4 separate regions of the Homo sapiens genome follow, and regions 2, 3 and 4 are each linked to region 1. Evidence: promoter capture Hi-C in 16 types of primary human blood cells and fetal thymus (Javierre and others, 2016). All regions are on one chromosome and are shown on one strand. The core of a region is centred on a gene start or on the middle of the fragment in contact, and the rest is flanking DNA. Distances in the headings are between cores, read along the strand shown. Region 1 holds the start of SYBU (syntabulin). Region 2 overlaps PKHD1L1 (PKHD1 like 1). Region 3 overlaps PKHD1L1 (PKHD1 like 1). Region 4 overlaps PKHD1L1 (PKHD1 like 1).

Region 1 (3,301 bases), core at 208-2,707:
AGGAGCACAGTCCTCCTATGTAGGACACTGGTGCATAAGGATCAGAGTGTCGCACTGCTTGGAATATTCTCCAATTCTGAATAAAGGGTATATAAGTCATTATACATGGTGAATTCCACCACCAGATAAGATTTAAGGGTAGCAATTGTAATAAATCAAGGCCCTTGGCCCAGCTGATGTACCCTATTCTAAGTCCCCAGTTGGACAGATTTTCGAGCTTTCTTAAACAAATTTGTGTGCATCACAAATGCTTTTTCTGCCTGTCATGTAAAAGGCATCAACAAATATTGACTGGATCATCTGGACCTGACTTAGCTGCCCTTTGGAAAGTTCTGTTCAATCAGCTGGATAGAGCTGTTTGTTTTCCTCACCTAACCCTCACAGCTATCCTAGAGGTAGGTATCACTATTATTATCCCTCAATTTAACAAGGGTAAATTTGAAGTTCAGAAGGGTCAAGAACCGTAGGCGTAGGCCACGCATGCAATGGCATCCGCATGTAATTCGAGCACTTTGAGAGGCCTGGACGGGATGATCCCTTGATCCCAGGAGTTAGAGGTTGCAGTGAGCCCTGATCGCGCCACTGTACTACAGCCTGGGCCACAGAACGAGATGCCGTTTCAACAGCAACGGAAAAAAAAAAAAACAAAAAACGAAACAACAACAAAAACTTTAGGCATAAAGGCACTCAGGCTGAAGGGACCGATTGGAGTGCTGGCTTGAACTCGTTTTTCTGAGTTCAATTCCAGTGCTCTTCCCTTAGCAGTGTGCTGGAGCTACTTCCTGGAGCCGGGCAGCTGCAGGGCAGCGCTGGGGAAAAGACTGTTCTCTGGCTACATAGCAGCCTGGCTTCTCCAAGCCGGAGGGAGCTGCGCTGACCACTGAAGGCCTTTCTGATGCAACCCCTTCCAAGTAGAATCCATCGCAGCCTTTCAGATCCCGGAACCCAGAGGCTGTGTCGGTCCTGACGCACTGGCTTGGCTGGGCTCCGGTACGAGAGGGATCTCTGCAGCTCTCGGGCGAGGCAGTTGTGGGGAGCTGTAGGCTGACTTAAGACCTGGAGGCCAAGGAGGGGTGGCCAGGGGAAAACTTTCTCTATTTTGTCTCTCTGTGATGTCGCAGCTTTTCTCAGTCACTCCATCCAACGCCACCCACTTCAAACCTGAGATCAAGTGCAAAAAAAAAAGAGGGTGGGGTCACCCCTGGGCTGGAGATGCCGCTAGCCGCAGCCTGCCTACACCGGGCCGAGCTCCTTGGAGAGGGAGGGACACCGGCTCTGGCTGGGGGGGCGCGGAGTGCCGTGGGGAAATCGGGCGGGTGGGGCGCGCCCAGGCGCGGTCGAGTTGCCCCGAAGGCCGCAGGTGAGGGAGGGCGTGGGAGGCGCCCCAGGAGCTGCCTCTAGCGAGTGCGGCACCACGTGTCCGGCCGGGGCGGGGTCGGGCGTGCCCTCGGAGCCCAGAGCAATCGGCGGCAGTGGCGGCGGCGGCGCGTTGGAGCCTCACCAAGAGCCGCCGCCCGCAGCCCGCGCCGGCTCAGCGCAGTCTCCTCGCTCCGTGCTCGCAGGTGCCTCCTCCTGGACGGCGGCAGCGGCGGCGCGAGGAGCCGGCGGGCAGCGGCGCGATGGGGCCCCTCCGCGAGAGCAAGGTAAGGAGCGCGGGGCAGTGCGGGCACTGGAGGGCGGGGAAGGCGGGCACTGCGGGGCGAGAAGCGGCGGGATGAGAGCTGGAGGGGTGACATTTAGAGTCTGGGGAAAGGTGGAAGGAGGTGGTGGTGGGGTCTGGAGAAGGCAGGAGGCATTGCTTAGGAGTTGAGATCCAGGAGATGGGGAGGTGGTACTGGAGGAATAGATTTTGGAGAATGACATGATTGGAGGGTTAATCCCACCTCCTGAAACTGGGACTGTGGGGTGTAGCTTTCAGTTGATATCCTGTGTGTGTGATGTGAATGAAAGGAATTTGATGCATCCGCGACTGGGAAAAGAGGACTCCCGCGTGTCAGTGACCCTGCCTTAGCTCAGGGTCTGCGGTGTGCCCGGCGGAGTGGCTGGCGCATGGTACCTGCTGGGCGGCAGATGTGCAGGGCGAATCCGAGGCTGCGTGCGGCTGGCGGCCCCCGGGTAGAGTGGATGCCTGAGGGCCCTCCGAAGTTCCCCATTGCTGAGGTTTACCCTTCAATTTATGCCATGTGCCGGCCTCCCAGAGGTGTTTATTTTGGCCGTGACCCTTCCTGGTAAGCCGGTGGAAGGAACAGTAGGTCATGTTTCGAAAGGGTGTTTGTTACCTAAGCCAAAGAGTCCCTTTCAGTGGCAGAGGTTGGAGGAAGCAGTGGAATTTTTGCAAAACGCTCCTCCTAGGAATCCATTTTCATAAGGCAGGGTGGTGGTGACCCTGCAAAGCACTGGATTTGAATTTCGTTCTACTTCTGGCATGGTGTGCAGAATTGCCTAAGCATCTCTACCCCATTTAGCCTGTTTCCTCATCTGAAAATAGGGACATTCATTGGTGTGCTCTCTATGTACAGTCTGGTGTGTAAAGATCAAATGAGAAAATGGTTGGAAAAGCACTTTATAAGTTGGAAAACATTGTGAAAATATTACTGTTACGCATTTTTAAAACCACGAAATGGCAGGGTACTTCATGCTGCGTTTTTAAGGAGAAAGAAAAATCTCTTCTTATGGATGTCCTGTAAGGAAAACAAAAATTAAAGATGATGTAAAAGGTGGAGCCATCTTCCCGAGTATCGGATTTGTGTTTGCTTTTCTGTTGGCAACAAGCCTTGTGTACCAGGATATTAACGAATAATTAAGATCCTGTCCAGAAGAGGAGGGATTTTAAAGATAATTGTGTGTGAGCTATCAGGAAATAACTGTTCCAGGTATAGGGTTCAACTTTGTGAGGAGACAAGAAAACAAGTCAGACTGTCACAGCTAATTTAGGGAAAGCAAAATGGAAGTCTGAAGGCTATCAAGTAAGCCAGAGTGTGGTGTTAATAAAGAGCCTTTGGGAGGCAGAAGCTTGAATGTGATAGAAGTCAGGGTGGGAAGGTGAGTCAGGACCAGCATAGGGAAGTAGGATGGCCTTCCAGCTAGTGAGTGGAGGTGTGTATATGTGTGTGTGTGTGTGTGTGTGTGTGCCACACAGACATGTGCTATTCAGTAGATTAGAAAGGTTAACTCATTGGAAGAGTTTTGAAGCTCATTTCAGCAACTGAGATAAGAAGGACTACTCTGTGAAGACTCAATACTCAGAAATGTGATTTCTTAGAAATTGATCCTTGAAGGAACCGACAGGAGTTAAGAGAGG
Region 2 (2,980 bases), core at 97-2,596, 220 kb after region 1:
AGAGCGGTTCAAGGAAGGTACTTGGGGAGCTAATGATTATCTTCATTTGGGTGTGATTACATGAGTGTATCTACTTTGTAAAAATGTGTTGAATTCAGTAGGTTATAAGATACAAGATAAAGACACAAAAATCAATTACATTTCTATATACAAATAACGAGCATGTGGAAATCGAATTTAAAAACACAAGACCATTTACAACTGCTCGAAGAAAATGAAACACGTTTATAAATCTCACAAAACATGTACTAGACCTGAACTGAAAATTGCAAAATGCCGATAAATGTAATAAATGAAGATCTAAATATGCTGGTAAAGCACGAAGAGGACAAATAATTGGAGAGACATACTGTGTTCATGGATTGGAAGACTCAATATCACAATGGTGTCAATTCTCTCCAAAACAGTCTATAGATTTAATGTAATTATTGTCAAAATACCAGCAAGGTTTTTTTGTAGACATAAATAATCTTATTTTAAAATTTATATGGGAAGGCACAGGACCTAGAATAGCTAAAACAATTTTGCACAAGAAAAATAAAGTAAGAAGAATCACTCTACTCAATGTTAAGTCTAACTATTCAGATACAATAGTCAAGAATGTGTGGTATTGGTGGAAGGACTGACACATAGACCAATGGAAAGAATAGAAAACTCAGAAATATGCCCACACAAATATGATTTTTGACAAAGGTTCCAATGTAATTAAATGGAAGAAAGATAGCCTTTTCAATAATGTTGCTGAAACAATTGGAGGCATAGGCAAACAAATGAACCTCAACGAAAAATCACATCTTACATGTAAAAATTAACACAAAATGGATCATGCCCTTAAATATAAAATGTAAATCTGTAGGATTTTTAGAAAAAGAAAAATCCTCAGGACCTAGAGCTAAGTAAGTTCTTAGACTTGAAACCAAAAGCACCGTTCAAAAAAGAAAAAAAAAAGTGATAAATTTGGCCTCATAAAATTTTTAAAACTTTGTTCTGTCAAAGACCTTATGAAGAAGATGAAAAGGTGAGGTACAGTCTGGGAGAAAATATTTGCAAACCATATATCTGACAAAAGAATTATACCTAGACATTTCACAGTAGAAGATATGTAGGTGGCAAATAAGTTCATAAAAAGATGTTCAACATCATTAGCCATTAGGAAATATCAATTAAAATGAAAATGAACCATCGTTACACACCCTACCAGAACGCCTAAAATTAAAAATAGTGACATCACCAAACACTGGCAAGATTGTGCAGAAACTGGATCGTACACTGCTGGTGGGAATCTAAAATGGTACAACCACTTCAGAAAAAAAATATGGTAGTTTCTTTAAAAACTATACATGTTCTTACCATACAACCCTATAATTGCACTGTTGGGAATTTAACCGAGAAAAAATGGAAACTTATGTCTCACAAAAGCCTACAGATGAATGTTCATAGCGGTTTAATTCATAATAGCCAAAACCAAGAAACAACTCAAATGTCCTTCAACGGGTGAGTAAACAAACTGGTACATCCATAACAGTAAATATACTCAGCAATTAAAATGAATAAATCGATCAACACAATTTGAATGGATCTCAAGGGAATTATGCTGAGTTAAAAAAATGCCAGTATACAAAAGCTATGTATTTGTGTGATTATATGACATCTGATTCCATTTTTGTAGCATTCTTGAAACGACAAAATTATTGAGAGAATGAATTTGTGGTTGCCATATATAAGTGAGTGCAGGAGGAATGGAACGAGGGAGATGGCTGTGACAGCATGGCTACAAAAAGGTAGCACAAGAGACGCTCGTAATAGAACTGTTCTGGTGGTGGTCAGATGAATCTACACCTATGATAAAATTGTGTAAGAACTACACAAACACGCACACACACACACACAACCCTGGAAAAATCTGAATAAGGTCAGTGGATTTTATCATGTCAATTTCCTGGTTATGATATTATGCTATATTATACAAAAAAATTATCATTGGGGGAAAATGGGTAAAGGATATAAAAATAGTTCTGTGCTATTTCTTACAACTGCATGTGAATCTACAATTATGTCAAAGTTAAAGTTCTTAAAACAATTTATTGATCTATACATTTAACATATGTGCATATTATTTATTACATGTACCTATCACTTGAATTTTTTTAAAAGGTCACAAAAATCTAAGTCCTGTATTCTTCAGTGTAAACTTTGATGAATAATTAAAGATAGAGGTTACAGTTACCAATTAGTTTATTGAGGAATCTTGAAAAATGGGAGAATTTTGACACAGATGCTTTGAGAATACAGAGCCTTGAATTAGTTATTATATTTTCTTTTTTTTGAGACAGAGTCTCGCTCTGTCGCCGAGGCTGAAGTGCAGTGGCGCGATCTCCGCTCACTGCAAGCTCCGCCTCCCGGGTTCACGCCATTCTCCTGCCTCAGCCTCGGAAGGAGCTGGGACTACAGGCCCCCGCCACCACGCCCGGCTAATTTTTTTGTATTTTTTAGTGGAGATGGGGTTTCACCATGTTAGCCCGGATGGTCTCGATCTTCTGACCTCATGATCCGCCCGTCTCGGCCTCCCAAAGTGCTGGTATTATAGGCGTGAGCCACCGCGCCCGGCCAGTTATTATATTTTCTAATAGAGCTAAGAGTAAAGCACTGAAAAGCATTTGTAAGATGCTAATCTGGAAGATATTAAGACTAAAACATTGGGCCAGGATGGGATAAAGGCAATTTTTTTGGAGTTTTTATAATTTTTCAGTAATTTTAATCATAAAATTGTTTACTTTGCAAAAATTTTCTGTGAGGCTCTAATCCAATTACAATGGTTAATGATTATTTAATCTTTAATCTTGAGCTTATTATACTTGTTTTTGGTTTGTGGTAGGAAATTATATTAACTCATTGAATATTTTTATAGAAATTTAATTTTAAATTTTTCATTATATTTGTAATATTTAATATTAATCTTATTACAAATGTACAAAAAATT
Region 3 (3,223 bases), core at 202-2,701, 150 kb after region 1:
TTTTTTTTTTTGAGACAGAGTTTTACTCTGTTGCCCAGGCTGGAGTACAGTTGTGTGATCTCGGCTCACTGCAACCTCCGCCTCCCAGTTTCAAGCAATTCTCCTGCCTCAGCCTTACAAGTAGCTGGGATTATGCCCAGCTAGGTTTTTTTTTTTTTTTTTTTGTATTTTTAGTAGAGTCGGGGTTTCACCATGTTGGCCAAACTGGTCTTGAACTCCTGACCTCATGATTCATCCACCTTGGCCTTCCAAAGTGCTGGGATTACAGGCATGAGCCACCATGGACCAGGGGCCTATTTATAACAGGAATGAGGGTCTGAGCCATTCTACCAGGCAAGCCATCTTGACAAGCAGAAGTGTTAACCAAGGAAGACAGAAATTTAGAAAGGGTGATGGATGAGAGAGATGATGAGTATCATTTATGGTTTAGGGACCAGCTATGGCAGGGTGACCACCAAACCTCTTCTTAAAGTTTTTCCCAAAAATTGTGACCATGCAGAATCTTGGAGAAATCATATATAACTTAATATAACTAACAATGAAGAAAGCAAGTAGATCCCAGTAGTCCCAAGAGAGGACTAAAGTGGATACAGGCTGGTACACCCATCTCTCATCTCTTTGAATATTGGCTGTTAACAAATCTCCCTTTTCCCAGACAATTAGCTTAGCCAAAAAGGAGCCACATACCCGGGAAATCAAGGTCCTCCCCATAGGGGCAGCTGTAACCAAAAACTAACATGGGGATACAAATGACTTCCGTCCCCTACCCACCTCACCAGATGTGGGATCAACTCCGTGGCAATTTTAACTTACACTCTAGAGTTTCCCAGTGGCATCAAGTATAGCTGCCCTTCAGCTCATATCACATCCTTGCTTAGCAACTTCCCTTGCCCTGTTCTCTTCCTTCCCTTTCTACTAGGTGTTCCAAGAAGCCACTAATATGAAAGTCCTCATCTAAGGCTGTTTCTAGTGAATCTCAGTCAACCAACTTTTATATGTTATTTTAAAAGACTATATCTTATGAAAGAATAATAGTTATTAATGTTCTTTCAATAAATTTCAATCTTAAGGCTTCATTTCATAAGGGCAGTTTCATTGTCACATGATATTTATAATATTCTGGAGCATATTATTTATTAAAAGCCATATATGTTCAATTACAACCTATGTAGCATGTTATACAATTTCCTCCAAGGGTATGAGCATTGCAATTAACACTTAAAAGTGTTGCTAATTTGTTTCACATTTCTGGGATCTAAAGCTGTGAGAAAGAATATGTTAAAACTTAGATGTCTAACTTACTGAACTACTTTCTTCAGAGACACTGGTTAAAATTATCCTGGAAGGGACACTTGCTCCATTAAAACAGGAAATGCACAGTGTTATTTAATAGGCCAAATGAAAATAATTGATGTGTTTACTACATTAATTTATATATAATTATTTTACATTTCTAAGCAGCCATCCTGGTTCAGTGAAAGAGCAGTGGAGTTTGAATCAGAAGATTTTGATTCTAATCCTAGCTGTGCCAATAGCTGTGGGAATTTGGCCAGGCACTAAGTTCTTTGAGCTTAAGGTTCTTCAATTTTAAAAAGGGATGATAATATATAATCCTACTTACATGAAAGGGCATTTACAAATTATACAAATTAATATTAAATCACAAATGCCAGTGTTTTGTTGTTGTTTTAGAAGGAAAATTTAACATCAATTCTTCAACATACAGTATAAGAATCCTGCCAAGAAACCATTCTCAAAATTGACTCTGATGTCTGATTTCTTTGTCATATTGAGCAGATTGCTATAAAAATTCACTTAAATCATTTTTACTAACAATGAAACATTATTAGTTATCCTCTACATATTCTTTACAGAAATTAATTGAGAAGATTTGTAAAAGACTGTGTACTTGCCTGAGATGTCCAAAAGGCCACTGATGGCATTGTAACTCATGATTCCTGCATGGGGCTTTCGGGGTGCCATGTTATGAGCTGAAGCAAAGGTAGGCCAACAAATCCCACTTCTCCCACCTTTTACCAAAAAAGAAAAAGTTAATGAAAATTGAATATGCACTCATATGAACAACAACATTAAAGTTTCAAATTTTTCACCTGATGGAGATCTAGGACTCCGATGAGCAGCAGTGAGTTCAATATTAGGATCATCATTAGTTAGGACATCAGAGCAATTAAACCCAGGGCTACTTCCAACAATTAATGAGCTCTGTTTGGAAATAAGCCAAACAATATAGCATTAATAATAGCTCTTACTAAAAGAAAACATGGGCCGGGCGCGGTGGCTCACGCCTGTAATCCCAGCACTTTGGGAGGCCGAGGCGGGTGGATCATGAGGTCAGGAGATCGAGACCATCCTGGCTAACAAGGTGAAACCCCGTCTCTACTAAAAATACAAAAAATTAGCCGGGCGCGGTGGCGGGCGCCTGTAGTCCCAGCTACTCGGGAGGCTGAGGCAGGAGAATGGCGTGAACCCGGGAAGCGGAGCTTGCAGTGAGCCGAGATTGCGCCACTGCAGTCCGCAGTCCGGCCTGGGCGACAGAGCGAGACTCCGTCTCAAAAAAAAAAAAAAAAAAAAAAAAAGAAAACATGATAATGAATAGTACTAAATTCTACTGTAGTAAATAAAATGCAAACTATAAATTCAAAAAGTGGATCATTCATTAAACAAAGATGAAAAAGGTTGCTACCCCAACTGGAAAAGCACTAAGAATAGGAGAGGGAAGACAGACATGTAAATAATTACATATAAGGACATGTTATGTTTCTGTGATAAATACATCCAGGGAACAGTAGGCACAAAAAAGTGGAGGAAGTGTCATTACCACCTAAACTGGCTCAGAAAAAACTTCATAGAGGGAGTGAAAATTTAACTATTTCAAGATTAGCAGGTGATAAGCAAGAAGAGGGAAGGGAGGAGGAGAGATAAGAATGAACAGCTTTTTTGTTGGGTGCGGTGGCTCACGCCTGTAATCCCAGCACTTTGTGAGGCCGATGTGGGCGGATCACGAGGTCAGGAGATCAAGACCATCCTGGCTAACACAGTGAAACCCCATCTCTACTAAAAATATAAAAAATTAGCCAGGCGTGGTGGCGGGCACCTGTAGTCCTAGCTACTCGGGAGGCTGAGGCAGGATGTGAACCCGGGAGGCAGAGTTTGCAGTGAGCCGAAATTGTGCCACTGCACTCCAGCCTGGGCTACGGAGCGA
Region 4 (2,834 bases), core at 256-2,755, 170 kb after region 1:
CAGAGTGGCTCACAAAGAATGTGCAGGATTTCAATAGCTCAATTTGTGATGAAAGTCCCTCTGGCCTGACAATGTCTGTGAGTAAGTATGAGGATGTAGGCTGTGTTTGGGTAATACACAATTATAATCATTAGAAGATAAATATTTTTACCTTGAATCCATAGAATGTCGATGTATATGAAATGTTGGTTATGTGATCCACACCTTTAAAATACCAGTTAATGTGATTTGCATTTGGAATCAGAGCCATCCATCCAGACATATGAGTCAGTCGTTTCTTCTGAAATGGAATAATGCTTGTGCCTATAGGAGAACATAGAACAAGAAAATAATAGTAATCTCTACCTCTAATAAACTCCTCCTTTTGTAAACAAGTGCAAAAGTTAGTTTAGTTTGGTTGGTTTAGCAAATGTTGGTTTAGCAAATATTGGTTTAGTCTATGACAGTCTTTAAAAAGATTAATATGGCATTTCATTACTTATGTTCTAAATGTCTTCGTTTGACTGAAGAACTGAAATGATTAATATTATATTTAACTGGAAAGTAAAATGCTTTCAAACCTGGAATTTTGAATTGAGATGGAGCCTTTATTCCTTAGGGAAAGATACACTTGAAACATTGTGAAATTACAACTGCTAAAACGAAAGTGCCTAAATATATTAATATAATTATTTAAAGGTCATTGATCTAAACATAATTTCATTTTTATTCTTTAAGAACTTAGTTATTCAGAATCCTTGATGTAGAATATATAAAAACATAAGCTCTGATTCTTTATTAGAGTTTTCTATGTCTGTTGAGCTAATTAAAATCTGTACAACACATATTAATGTTTACTAGTAAATAATTTTGTTTGACTTTAATGGTGTTTTGATTTAGAATTATTAAAGAACAAGGCTACAACTAGACCTATAACTTAACACTGATGAAGATATATACATTTTAGGAATACAAACCTTGAACCTGAACTACCTGTTACAGGAAAAACTATATAATTTAGTAATGCTTTGGTCACAAGAGAATGCCTGATAGCTTTAATAGAAGATTTGAAAAGTTCTCTTACAATATAAAGGAAAGGTCTTTCATTAACTGCCTCTATTTTTCTCCCCCTTCCTTTACTTTTCATCTCAGATTGGATTTTATATTAAAGTAACAACCTCTTATTTTAAAAATTTAGGAGGAAGAAGCTAGAAGCAAGATTATAAAATAATCTGTCTGAAATAAGGCCCAACAAAATTCCAAAGCCATGAGAGAAAAAATTCATGATTTTCTATGCTTTATGAGTTAGTATTAATTTTAAAAGATTCATGACCAGAGACACCAAAAACTTTCACTACCAGAAAATCCCGTAAAGTATGAAAAGAACTGTGACTAGTTGGATTATTGTTCAGCAAATATCCACTCCTTTCTTCTCCTTGAGGGCAAAGTAGACTTCCCTGCTTCATTGATCTTGGCCAATGGGACATTAGTGGAACTGACACTAGTAAATGCTTGAAAAGTGCTTGCTCAGTGAGGTTTGACTTCTTAAGCCTCTATCTTCACAAAGAGAAGAGCCTCCTCCAGGTAACTGCTCTCCCTTTGCCTGACACCTGGAACGAGTACATGTGGAGTTACCTGAGCTCAGCCCTTGGGGAGAAGCAAAGCCTTATATTGAAGCAGAGACTTCCAGCAGAGCCCAGCCTAGATCAATCAACCTAGCCTGTGGACACCTAAGAATAAATGATTGTAGGCTTAAGCTATTGAGTTTTGAGATAGTCTGTTGTGAAGCAATGGTTAACATAGAAGAGCTGATTAAAATCATCCAAAACCTCTAGAATTTGCTCCTGGATTTGCAGAACTCAATTAAGTGGAATTCCACTGAATTGAGTTCTTTTCTTTCTTTTTCTTTTCTTTTTTTTTTTTCTTGAGATGGAGTCTCTAACTGTCACCCAGGCTGGAGTCCAGTGGTATGATCTCGGCTCACTGCAAACTCTGCCTCCTGGATTCAAGCAATTCTCCTGCCTCAACCTCCCAAGTAGCTGGGATTACAGGCATGTGCCACCACACCTGGCTAATTTTTCTGGTAGTTTTAGTAGAGGCAGGGTTTCACCTATGTTGGCCAGGCTGCTTTCGAACTCTTGACCTCAAGTGATCTGCCCACCTTTGCCCCCCAAAGGGCTAGGATTACAGGCATGAGCCACCGCACCCAGCCTCCAGTGAAGTTTTCTGATGCTTGGGATTGCATTTAACCTGACATTTCTTAATAATTCAGTTTCACAAGTGAAACAAATTTCCATTTTTTTAAGTTGTGTTTTTCCTAATTTTTTAAGCTGCACTCATTTCAAGTATGTTGGTTTTAAGTGTCTTGGACTGAAATATAAACTCTTTGAAGTTGATATTTTCTAAAAATAGGATCATTAAGAGTTAGTGTCTCAAATTAATTTGCCATCTGGTATAACTTTATACATATATTTACATAAAGATATACCATCATGCATGAGATGCTTTGATAAAGATATATATGGACGTGTGTAAAATTATAGCAAACCCTTACTTCCCACTAATCTAGTATACTTTTTAAACTTTTGTTTCACTCAGCATACATATACAATCAGGACAAGTTATCTTTTTCTGTTTTTAACTTTTAGAAGTAAATAATTTTATTTGACTTTAATGGAGATCAAAGTAGCCAAATGTACTTTACTATACAGTTGATTTTTTTTTTTCACACACAGAAGTAAAATGCCTAGCATAGTGTTTTCTCTAATTTGCAATGTGGTCTGAGTATTGCAACTAATTCCATTTAATTCAACACTTGCTGAGTAGTTACTATTTGCAATGTCCTGCGTTGAGCC

Evidence for each region. Contacts are between HindIII fragments. The CHiCAGO score rates a contact against its expected background, and 5 or more counts as called.
Region 2: a contact is called between a fragment that was not itself captured here and the fragment with the promoter of SYBU in region 1, in 2 of 17 cell types (total B cells and naive B cells). The highest score is 5.9, in total B cells.
Region 3: a fragment that was not itself captured here is called in contact with the fragment with the promoter of SYBU in region 1 in 1 of 17 cell types (naive B cells); the score reaches 5.4 in naive B cells.
Region 4: a contact is called between a fragment that was not itself captured here and the fragment with the promoter of SYBU in region 1, in 2 of 17 cell types (total B cells and naive B cells). The highest score is 8.8, in total B cells.

The regions. Positions count from the first base shown.
Region 1 is chr8:109,642,978-109,646,278 of GRCh38, reverse strand. SYBU (syntabulin) reads left to right here and starts at 1,457. Exons shown (of 7, transcript NM_001099754.2): 1 at 1,457-1,643. The coding sequence starts at 1,620. It overlaps SYBU-AS1 (SYBU antisense RNA 1), which reads right to left and starts at 2,150. Exons shown (of 2, transcript NR_161375.1): 1 at 2,057-2,150; 2 at 1-1,161. RefSeq lists enhancers at 773-1,092, 754-1,690 and a silencer at 1,203-1,692. The HindIII fragment of the contact is 4,274 bases long and covers 1-3,014 here.
Region 2 is chr8:109,421,130-109,424,109 of GRCh38, reverse strand. The region is part of intron 23 of PKHD1L1 (PKHD1 like 1); the gene reads right to left. Among named protein-coding and RNA genes, the nearest start is that of PKHD1L1, 60 kb to the right of the region's middle. The HindIII fragment of the contact is 4,892 bases long and covers 1-2,980 here.
Region 3 is chr8:109,497,462-109,500,684 of GRCh38, reverse strand. It overlaps PKHD1L1 (PKHD1 like 1), which reads right to left. Exons shown (of 78, transcript NM_177531.6): 66 at 2,112-2,223; 67 at 1,914-2,030. Among named protein-coding and RNA genes, the nearest start is that of EBAG9UORF, 41 kb to the left of the region's middle. The HindIII fragment of the contact is 6,056 bases long and covers 1-3,223 here.
Region 4 is chr8:109,472,587-109,475,420 of GRCh38, reverse strand. PKHD1L1 (PKHD1 like 1) reads right to left here. Exons shown (of 78, transcript NM_177531.6): 51 at 152-303. Among named protein-coding and RNA genes, the nearest start is that of EBAG9UORF, 66 kb to the left of the region's middle. The HindIII fragment of the contact is 3,166 bases long and covers 1-2,834 here.